2 separate regions of the Homo sapiens genome follow, and region 1 is linked to region 2. The links are contacts of gene promoters, found by promoter capture Hi-C in blood cells and fetal thymus (Javierre and others, 2016). All regions are on one chromosome and are shown on one strand. Each heading gives the region's core, a stretch centred on a gene start or on the middle of the fragment in contact. The rest is flanking DNA. Distances are from core to core; before and after follow the strand shown. Region 1 has its middle 380 kb from the start of STEAP1. Region 2 holds the start of ZNF804B (zinc finger protein 804B).

Region 1 (4,163 bases), core at 198-2,697, 1.0 Mb after region 2:
ACATGGTATGTTTTTATTATGTGCAACATGATATTTTGAAGAGTATACACATTGTGGAATAGTTAAATCTAGCTAATTAATAACCCTTTGCATATATTGTTGCATATTTGTGCAGATGACCACCAGCATAAATAACTAGAGATAGATTTGCTTGTCAAAGGATGTGCATATGCAGATTTGTTAGATATTTGCAAATTTACTACCATAAATTTGTACTATTTTGCAGTACCATTTGCAATGAGTGAAAATTACATACTTTGTTAAGATTTCCTTAGTTTTAGTTTTTATTTAATGTACCTTTTTCTCCAAGGTCCCATCAAGATACATGTTTAACTGTCATGTCCTCTTAAGTTCCTATTGGCTGTTAGCAATTTGTTTCTTACTTTTCCTTGTTTCTGATGACATTGACAGTTTTGCAGAATACTAGCCATATTTTCCCTTGACTGAGATTCATCTGGTGTTTTTTTCATGGTTAGATTGAGATTATAGGTTTTTAGGAAAGAAGACCATAAAAGTATATATGCCAATTTCATAAAATATAACATCATTTAAAGGCAACATTATCAGTATGACTTATCATTGTTGATGTCAACCTTGTTCACTTGGCTAAAGTAATGTTTACCAGATTTTTCCACTATAAGTTTACCTTCCTGCTTCTTTATCATTCTTATTGGAAAGAAGTTGCTATGGAAAGCCCGCACTTAAGGAGTAGGGAGTTAATACTTCATCTCTTTGAGGGCAAAGTACATAAACATTATGTCTTTATCCTATACTTTGAATTATAATCCAATACCACTTCATATCTTGTTGCTCAAATTGTTCCACTTTTGGCCATTGGGAGCTCTTTCATTTGGTTCCTGTGTCCCTTCTAACACACCCCCATTATTGTGTTTTTTTGCATGCTTTCTTACTTTCTGGTTCCACAATATGCTCTAGACTCACCTTGTACATTCTTGGCTCCAGTCATTTTTCCAAGAAACCCAGGCTGTTATTTTTATGGAAAATCATATTAGAAACCAAGCTCTGGATGCTAGGCATGTTCACTGCTATGAGAGTATCACTTTTTCTAGGTCCTCTCAGATGAAAAAGTAAGGAAATATACATGTATACTACTCTGTTTACATTTACATATCTATAAATATTTTACAAGTATCTATCTGTATCTGTCTTAAGCTAAAGAGGAGTTCACATGAATGTCCTCAACTCAAATCCATTACCACATAGATAAATTCTAGCTTTCTGCATCTGCTTATCTGTTTTCTACTATACCAACAGTGAGAAACCTGGCTCCCTTGATCCATTTATGTAATTTTTCAATTTGTATACATGAAGTGTTAACCTATATTTCTGTGGGATTATGACTATTATCAACTAGAGTACAGTGCTTATATAGAGCTCTTTTTGCCTTTAGGCTCACAGACTTCATTTATTTCCAAAATTCCTTATGTCAGTACTCTTTTCCTCCACACCTTTCAATGAGGTTGTTTCATGTCCTTGTAATACAGTTAGATTCTTGCACCATACTTTGCTTTCCATTCTGGGATCTCCTACTATCTTAAATGAACTCATTTTAACTTGCATATATTAAGATTCACTTTTTGTGCTGTAAAGTTCTATGCATTTTTTTTTTTTTTTGAGATGGAGTTTCCCTCTGCTGCCCAGGCTGGAGTGAAGTGGTGTGATCTCGGCTCACTGCAACCTCCACCTCCCGGGTTCAAGCGATTCTCCTGCCTCAGCCTCCTAAGCAGCTGGGATTACAGGCACCCTCCAACACACCTGGCTAATATTTGTAGTTTTTAGTAGAGATGTGGTTTCACCATGTTGGCCAGACTGGTCTCAAACTCCTGACCTCAGGTGATCCACCTACCTCCACCTCCCACAGTGCTGGGATTACAAGCATGAACCACCGTGGGCCTGACCAGCTCTACACATTTTAACAACTGCATAATGTCAGGTAAGCAACATTACAGTACTATACAGAATAGTTTCACCATCATAAAAAATCCTCTGTGCTTTTTCTATTCAACTCTCTCCTTTTCCCCAAGACCATCACCACTGATCTGTTTAGTGTAGTTTCACCATCATAAAAAATCCTCTGTGCTTTTTCTATTCAACTCTCTCCTTTTCCCCAGGACCATCACTACTGATCTGTTTAGTGTATTCATAGTTGTGCCTCTCCCAGAATGTCATATAAATTGAATCATACAGTATGTAATCTTTTCAGATTTTTATTTAGCAATATATACTTGAAGTCTCTCCATGTCTTTTCATGGTTTGATAGCCATTCACTTTTATTGCTGAATAATATTCCATTATGTGGATGCATCACAGATTGTTTCCCCTTCCCCTATTGAAGGAAATATTGGTTGCTTCTAGTTTTGGGTAATTATTAATATGAATTAAATTGCTGTAAGCATTTGCATGCAGTTTTGGAATGTGGAATACAGATATAAGTTTTTAAGTAAGTTGAATAAATATATAGGTGGACAATTGCTAAACTGCATGGTAACAGTATTGATAGGGACAGGAGGCAGAAAAGAGCGGGTCCTTGGCAAAACTCCACCCTCCAGCTGAAAAAGCCTGAAACTGCGGCCCAAAGTAAGAACTTACATCCCTGTTTTCCCACTGGAATGTTACCTTTTCCTAAATCACTCATGGCCCTGCCCTGCCCTGCCCTGCCCCACCCCACCCTATGCCTATAAAAACCCCAGACTCAGCTGGTAGACGGGACTATGGCTGGACATCAGAGAGAAGTAGCTTCACTTCAGAGGCACAACTTGTTGGCATAACTTCAAAGAAGAATCCATCTGGAGACAGCCGGACTTCAGGGGAAGTTTACCTACCAACTTCATCCCGTTTTCATCCCCCCTTCCCACTGAAAGCCTCTATCATCAGCTATAAAGTCCCTTGCATTTACCGTTGTTCTATTCATTAGTGTGACCTTATTTTTCATGGATGCTGGACAAGAGCTCAGGAATGATGAATACAGATACAAAATGTCACACTGGCCCTTTACTCTTGCTGGCAGAAAGAAGCTGCCTCACATGAAAAGGCAAAGGTCCACTGAGCTGTTAATGCTTAAGCCATCCGTGAATGGCAGAGCTAAATGAGCATGTAACACACCCTCTGGGGCTTTGGGAGTAGCAGGCACCCCCGCCTGGATGCTGCCACAGGGACTGCACAGAGTTCACTGCTGCTGGTGCCCAAAAATGGTCAGCCAGAGCCTGTACTCATTCACCTACTTATTCCCTCCCACAAGGGGATAAGCACAGTGAGCTGAGTAAATGGAGTTTGTTCCTGCCAGCGGTCAAAAGCACTTGCTCTGTTTCCTGCACTCATTTGCCCTCATGTTACCTCCAGCGAGTGGTAGACAGGGGAAAGCTAAGCAAGTGAGGCACTCCTGTTGCGAGTCCCATGACGGGGTAAAGAAAATATTCTGATTCACTATGTTTAACTTTATAAGAAACTGCTTCAGTTGTCTTCCAATGTGGCTGTATTATTTTGCATTCTCACTAGCAAGAATGAGAGGTCCAGTTGTTCCACATCCTCACCAGCAATCACTATCGTCTGTTCTTTGGCTTTTAGCCACTCTAATAGGTGTATAATGATATCTCATGGTTGTTTTAATTTGCATTTTTCTAATGAAAAAATGATGCTGAGCATGTTTTCATACGATTATTGGTCATTTCATGGGTGAGATGTCTGTTCAGGTCTTCTGACCACTTTTTAATTGGGCTGTTCTTTCTTCCAGTTGAGTTTTAAGAATTTTTAAAGTTTCTCTGATACAAGTTCTTTATCAGATATGTGATTTCCAATATTTTCTCCAAGTCTGTGGCTTCTCTTTTAATTCTCTTAACAGTGTTTTTTGTGGAGCAGAAGTTTTAAACTTTTATTCAGTCCAACTTATCATTATTTTATGAATTGTTCTTTTGATGTTTTATCTAAAAATTCATCAGCAAACCAAAGCTCATACAGATTTTCTTCTATATTTTCTTCTAAAAATGTTATAGTTTTCCATTATACATTTAAGTCTATGATTCATTTAAGCTTATTTTTTGTATAAGGTCTCTGTCTAAATATACAGATGCACAATATTTTTAGCACAATTCCTAAAAAGAATATCTTTTCAGCACTGAATTGTCTTCATGCCTATTGACTATATT
Region 2 (4,581 bases), core at 671-3,170:
TTTGTATAAAATACATCTAATGTCTATACACTAGTAATATTACTTGTTCTCAGCTTCAGGAAACACTTTACAGCTGTAAGTTGAACAAACACTACGTTGTTAAACATGCCATTGTTGTGGTGTTAAATACATCAATAGAAAGGAGAAGATGGATCTGTTGCATCTGCTGCCACTGCTCTATAAATTTATTTTTATTTCAAAAGTTCTTACCAACAATTTATTTAAAATAAACAATTCCTGAGATTTACATTGCACTATCCCAGTTTCAGTAATTTTTATTCTGAAGGTTTGCAAGGAATTGGCATTTTTCCCTTATATACTCAGAAGCTTTGCAAACACTTTAAAAGACTATATAAAACCTTTAAAATGAGAAGTACATCTATGTATTTTTTAAATAAAATATTAAGGATATTAAGCCATTGTAATGATGTAAACAAAAAGTCAAGCTTTTATTGGGTAGTTACAAAAGTTATAATTAGATTCTTTTTTGTTCCTTTTTTGCTTAAGAATTTTATGAGTTGCCTGAATAGGAAAAATTAAATTAACAGTTTTTTTTTCCTTTTAACCTGTTTCTGCTTTTGTGTCAATGTCAACCGGGATGCGAATGGGGCATTGTGGGAGACAGGAGAGGACAATACTGGGGAGAATTAGCGCATTGGCGGTAGCCTTTCAATTCCAGCGCTGAAGCAACAGACTGAGAGGAGGTGAACCTTTACCTTCTCCCAGGCACAGACAAGGCGAGGTGAGGCAGAGATGGATTGCAGAACCGCATTAAGCAACCGCGGGGTGGAGGAGAGTGCAGGGTGTCTCCAAACCCTGGGAGGGCTATCTTCTCCTTTCAGAGCACATTTCTGCCCAGGTCTTTTTATTCTCAGTGCAGCTCGCTCCCTGGTGGCTTAAATTACGGTAAACGAAATAAGGTCCGTTAAAAACCACTTCTGAGAGGGGTGATTATTGGGGGTTTTGAAAGCACAGAGGTCTTATAGAGACCAAAAATATGTGCCTCGCTAAGATACAGAAAGGCTTGTAAGTGAATCTTCATAACTCTGGGTACGTGCATGTATATGCACATATACGTATGCATGTCTCGTTTCTATACCTTATATAAGTTTTCTGCCCAAAACTTTCCTCGTCCGTGCGTTCCCTACCACGGCGCATCTAATCTGTCTGCCCTATTTGTGGCTGCACAGCTCATTCTTGCAACCGGCTGGGGAGCTGTTGCTTCTGCCAACGCCGCCGTCAGCCAGAGCGCTGAAGAAAAGCTGAAGGCCAGCAGGCAACGAAAGAGTAAAGAAAACGCCCTCCTCCTGCCCATCTCCTCCACCACAGCCTCCCCAGTCCTCCCAGGTGACTCCCAAACAGTAGAAAGTTGGCTCAGAGATAGGGCAGAAGAACCGGGGGGCTGGGCGGCTGAGGCCGGGAGGTGGGAGAGGCGGGTCCTGCAGCCCCGAGAGCCCCCCGCGGCTGCAGCGGCAGCTGTCACCTCCTGGCCTCGCCCCACAGCACACCTGAGCCTCCTGGGCAGCCCCGAGCCCACAGCTCCCAGCAGAGGCGCTAACTGCCCTCCTCAAGCACAGGTCGCCGCGTCCCCAACTCCCTGTCCTCACCCCGGCCCGCCCGTCTCCTCCTCCGCCCTCTCCCGACTGCAGCGGGGGCAGCGCTTTGGCGCTCCCAAGGACTCCCCGCCACTCTCCCCACAAAGCAGCGGCGGTGGCGGCGGCTGCTGCTGGATCTTCACACTGCAGCCAGCAGCCCAGGACGCCCCCGGCCGGACGATGGGTACCCGCGCCTGAGCATCCCCCGGGCAGGCGCCAGGCGCGAAGGCAGGGGGCGGGAGGAAAGGGGCGGGGGAATTCCTGATTCCCTGGTGGACCCTGGAAGTTGTCCTTAAATAAATATATCGCTGGCCCGCGGTTGAGCAGCCACCTCGTCAGAGCAGCATGTGGACTGGCTCGCCGGGTCCCCTCCGTGCTCTGTGCTGTCGCCGCCGCCGCCTCTGTCAGAGCAGCAGCTGTCGGCAGCAGGAGCCCCGCACGGGGCGCGGAGCAGGGACGCGCTGCCACCGCCTCCCCCTGCGTCCTGCTGGCCGCGTCTTCTCGGGAGGTGGTAGTCGCTGTTGCCGCTGAGAAACCCGCCCGCTTTCCACGGCTGGTCGCCTGGTGAGGAGTTGAGACTCTGCGCCTCCGCCCGGACCCACATGGCTTGTTACCTGGTCATCAGTTCGAGACATCTCAGCAATGGGCACTACCGGGGCATTAAAGGAGTCTTCAGGGGACCCCTGTGCAAGAACGGATCTCCCTCTCCGGTAATGTGCGCGCGCACACACATACATACACAAACGTTCCAACTCAACACAAACAAAAAGATATTGAGAGATAGTATCCTGATACAATGAGTAGGTGGTGGACATCTAAAACGTATACCTTATCCATAGGTATGGAGATACATCGTGTCCGTTTATACAATTTATTGACAGACTGTGACACAGAGAGGGGTGTGTATTTACATGTGTATTTTCAATTCAGTCAGTAGGATCTATAGTGCTACGGATGTAAATACTTACTGAATGCAGTCAACTGCAGGGCTCAGAAGGTAGCTCCTCTGTGCTATGTCAACTTACGAATCTGCTGATTTGAGCAGTGTAGAAAGTTTGAGTGGCACGTTATAATGTGCTTTTGTAAAGTCATCAGTTGAGATTAGTTTAATAATGCTACTGTTACTTTGTGAGAAAAACTCAAAGATTTTCCCTCAAATCATTGGCAAAAGGAAAGTTATAGGTAGTGAAAACTTGATTATATCTAATGCTCAACTATGCACATTCTTTAAGGGGAAGTAAGAGAATTCTTTATGGAAATCTGAGTTGGATAATTTATTGTATAATATACAAATATATTAACATGCAATTAACGTGATTGCTTTTTAACTTAGTAAACTATTCAATTTAGTTACTATTCAGTTTATTCACATTCTTTTTATAAAATAATTTCATCCAGATTATATGAGTTAAATACATTATTAATTCATTTCTTGGTACATGCTATTATGTTTTAAGGCTCCAAATATGTTTCAAGAAAATGTGTGTGAATGTGTATGTGTGTGTAATTTATATATATATATAATAAATATATATATAATAAATATATATATAATAAATATATATATATATTAGTTTTGGACTACTAGTGACTAAGTATCCAAACTTAAAGACCAACTTTTGAGGTTTCATATAAAAAACAGTATTTAAGTCTGTATGATATCAAGAGGGAAAACTGAAATTGCCCAACTTTAATTTTTTTATGTTTGATATTTTCCATCATGGTTTAATGCTTCTTTAGCATGAATTATTCAAAACTGCAACATATTATAAAAGCCTTTGATTATTAATAAATGCTATATGTAATTTACATGAGAAATCTAAGATCAGAAAGTACAGGTGCCCAGAGATATCACTAGGATTCCTCATGACAAACTATTCCTTCACATGCTTTTATGTACTATAAAAAGTGGGTTGTTGCAACTGCTCCCCCCAACAACTGTATACAGTACTGAGTCAGAACTGTTAGATGGAAAATACTGTTTGTATAAGTACTTAACAATTAAACTCACAGGGTTAGCAGGCACTTGCAGAGTTCTAGTTTAATAAAGCCCACATTCAGTCCCTCTAAGTAGCAGGTCTGAATCTTTCCCATTTCTAAAGATTCTCAGAATTGGAGTTCCTGCAGTCTCAGCAAACCACTTTAATGTTTAACAACTCACAGTGCCAGGAGAATCTTTCTTACAGCCAACTTAAATCCTTTAAATTCTTCTTTAAGTCTATTTCATCTAGAAAACATACAATGTTCTGCCTTTCTCACAGGTATTATTTTTCAACGCTTTGGTAATCTCCGTGCCTGTCTCCCTTGCCCTCCTTTTGGTTATGGAAAACTAAATTGGGTAGGGCATTGTACTGTTTGTGCCTTAAGACTTCTCAGTATAAAGGGAGAATTGCTTCATAATCTTACACGGTTTAGTTCTATTCAAGTTGGTTAGACTATGGTGTTCATCTTCCCAAATCTGTAGGGCTTGCAGAAGAATTTCTGTTACATGGTCAAAAAGTGTCCTTTCTCTCCCACTTTGGTCAGTCATCTCCCAAGAGCCTGACTGACACTATAGAGACTGGATGTGTGAATGTGGATGGGAGAAGACAGCCCATTGACCACATGGCTGTGCTGGTTGACCAGGGTTCACCAGGTACTCCCCACCCTCAGGGCACTATTTTTATTCACTGCTGGGCTGGTTTTTACTAAAGTACAAATTAATTTACTTTGTTATCTAGGATCTACACTTTGACTCACTGGAAGGTTCTCTCCAATATTTATTTACACATTTGGATGTACTTAAATTACATATGCATCATTTAAAAATATCTAAATTAAATGATATATGTACTTTCTCAACACTATTTGATTTACTTGGTCTTCTTTTACATTTTATTATGGAATTTGCATGGCTTTTTCAATATTTGAATAGTTTCTCATGTGAGCTGGGCACTGTATGAAAATTTGTGTTTATTCATTCTCTATCATTGGCAGGTGGTTGAGA

Evidence for each region. The method cuts DNA at HindIII sites, captures the fragments that hold promoters and counts their contacts. A CHiCAGO score of 5 or more calls a contact.
Region 1: a fragment that was not itself captured here is called in contact with the fragment with the promoter of ZNF804B in region 2 in 1 of 17 cell types (naive CD4 T cells); the score reaches 6.1 in naive CD4 T cells.

What each region holds. Positions count from the first base shown.
Region 1 is chr7:89,777,299-89,781,461 of GRCh38, forward strand. No RefSeq gene overlaps it. Among named protein-coding and RNA genes, the nearest start is that of STEAP1, 380 kb to the right of the region's middle. The HindIII fragment of the contact is 5,196 bases long and covers 1-4,045 here.
Region 2 is chr7:88,757,780-88,762,360 of GRCh38, forward strand. It overlaps ZNF804B (zinc finger protein 804B), which reads left to right and starts at 1,921. Exons shown (of 4, transcript NM_181646.5): 1 at 1,921-2,305. The coding sequence starts at 2,198. RefSeq lists an enhancer at 2,067-2,611. The HindIII fragment of the contact is 11,667 bases long and covers 445-4,581 here.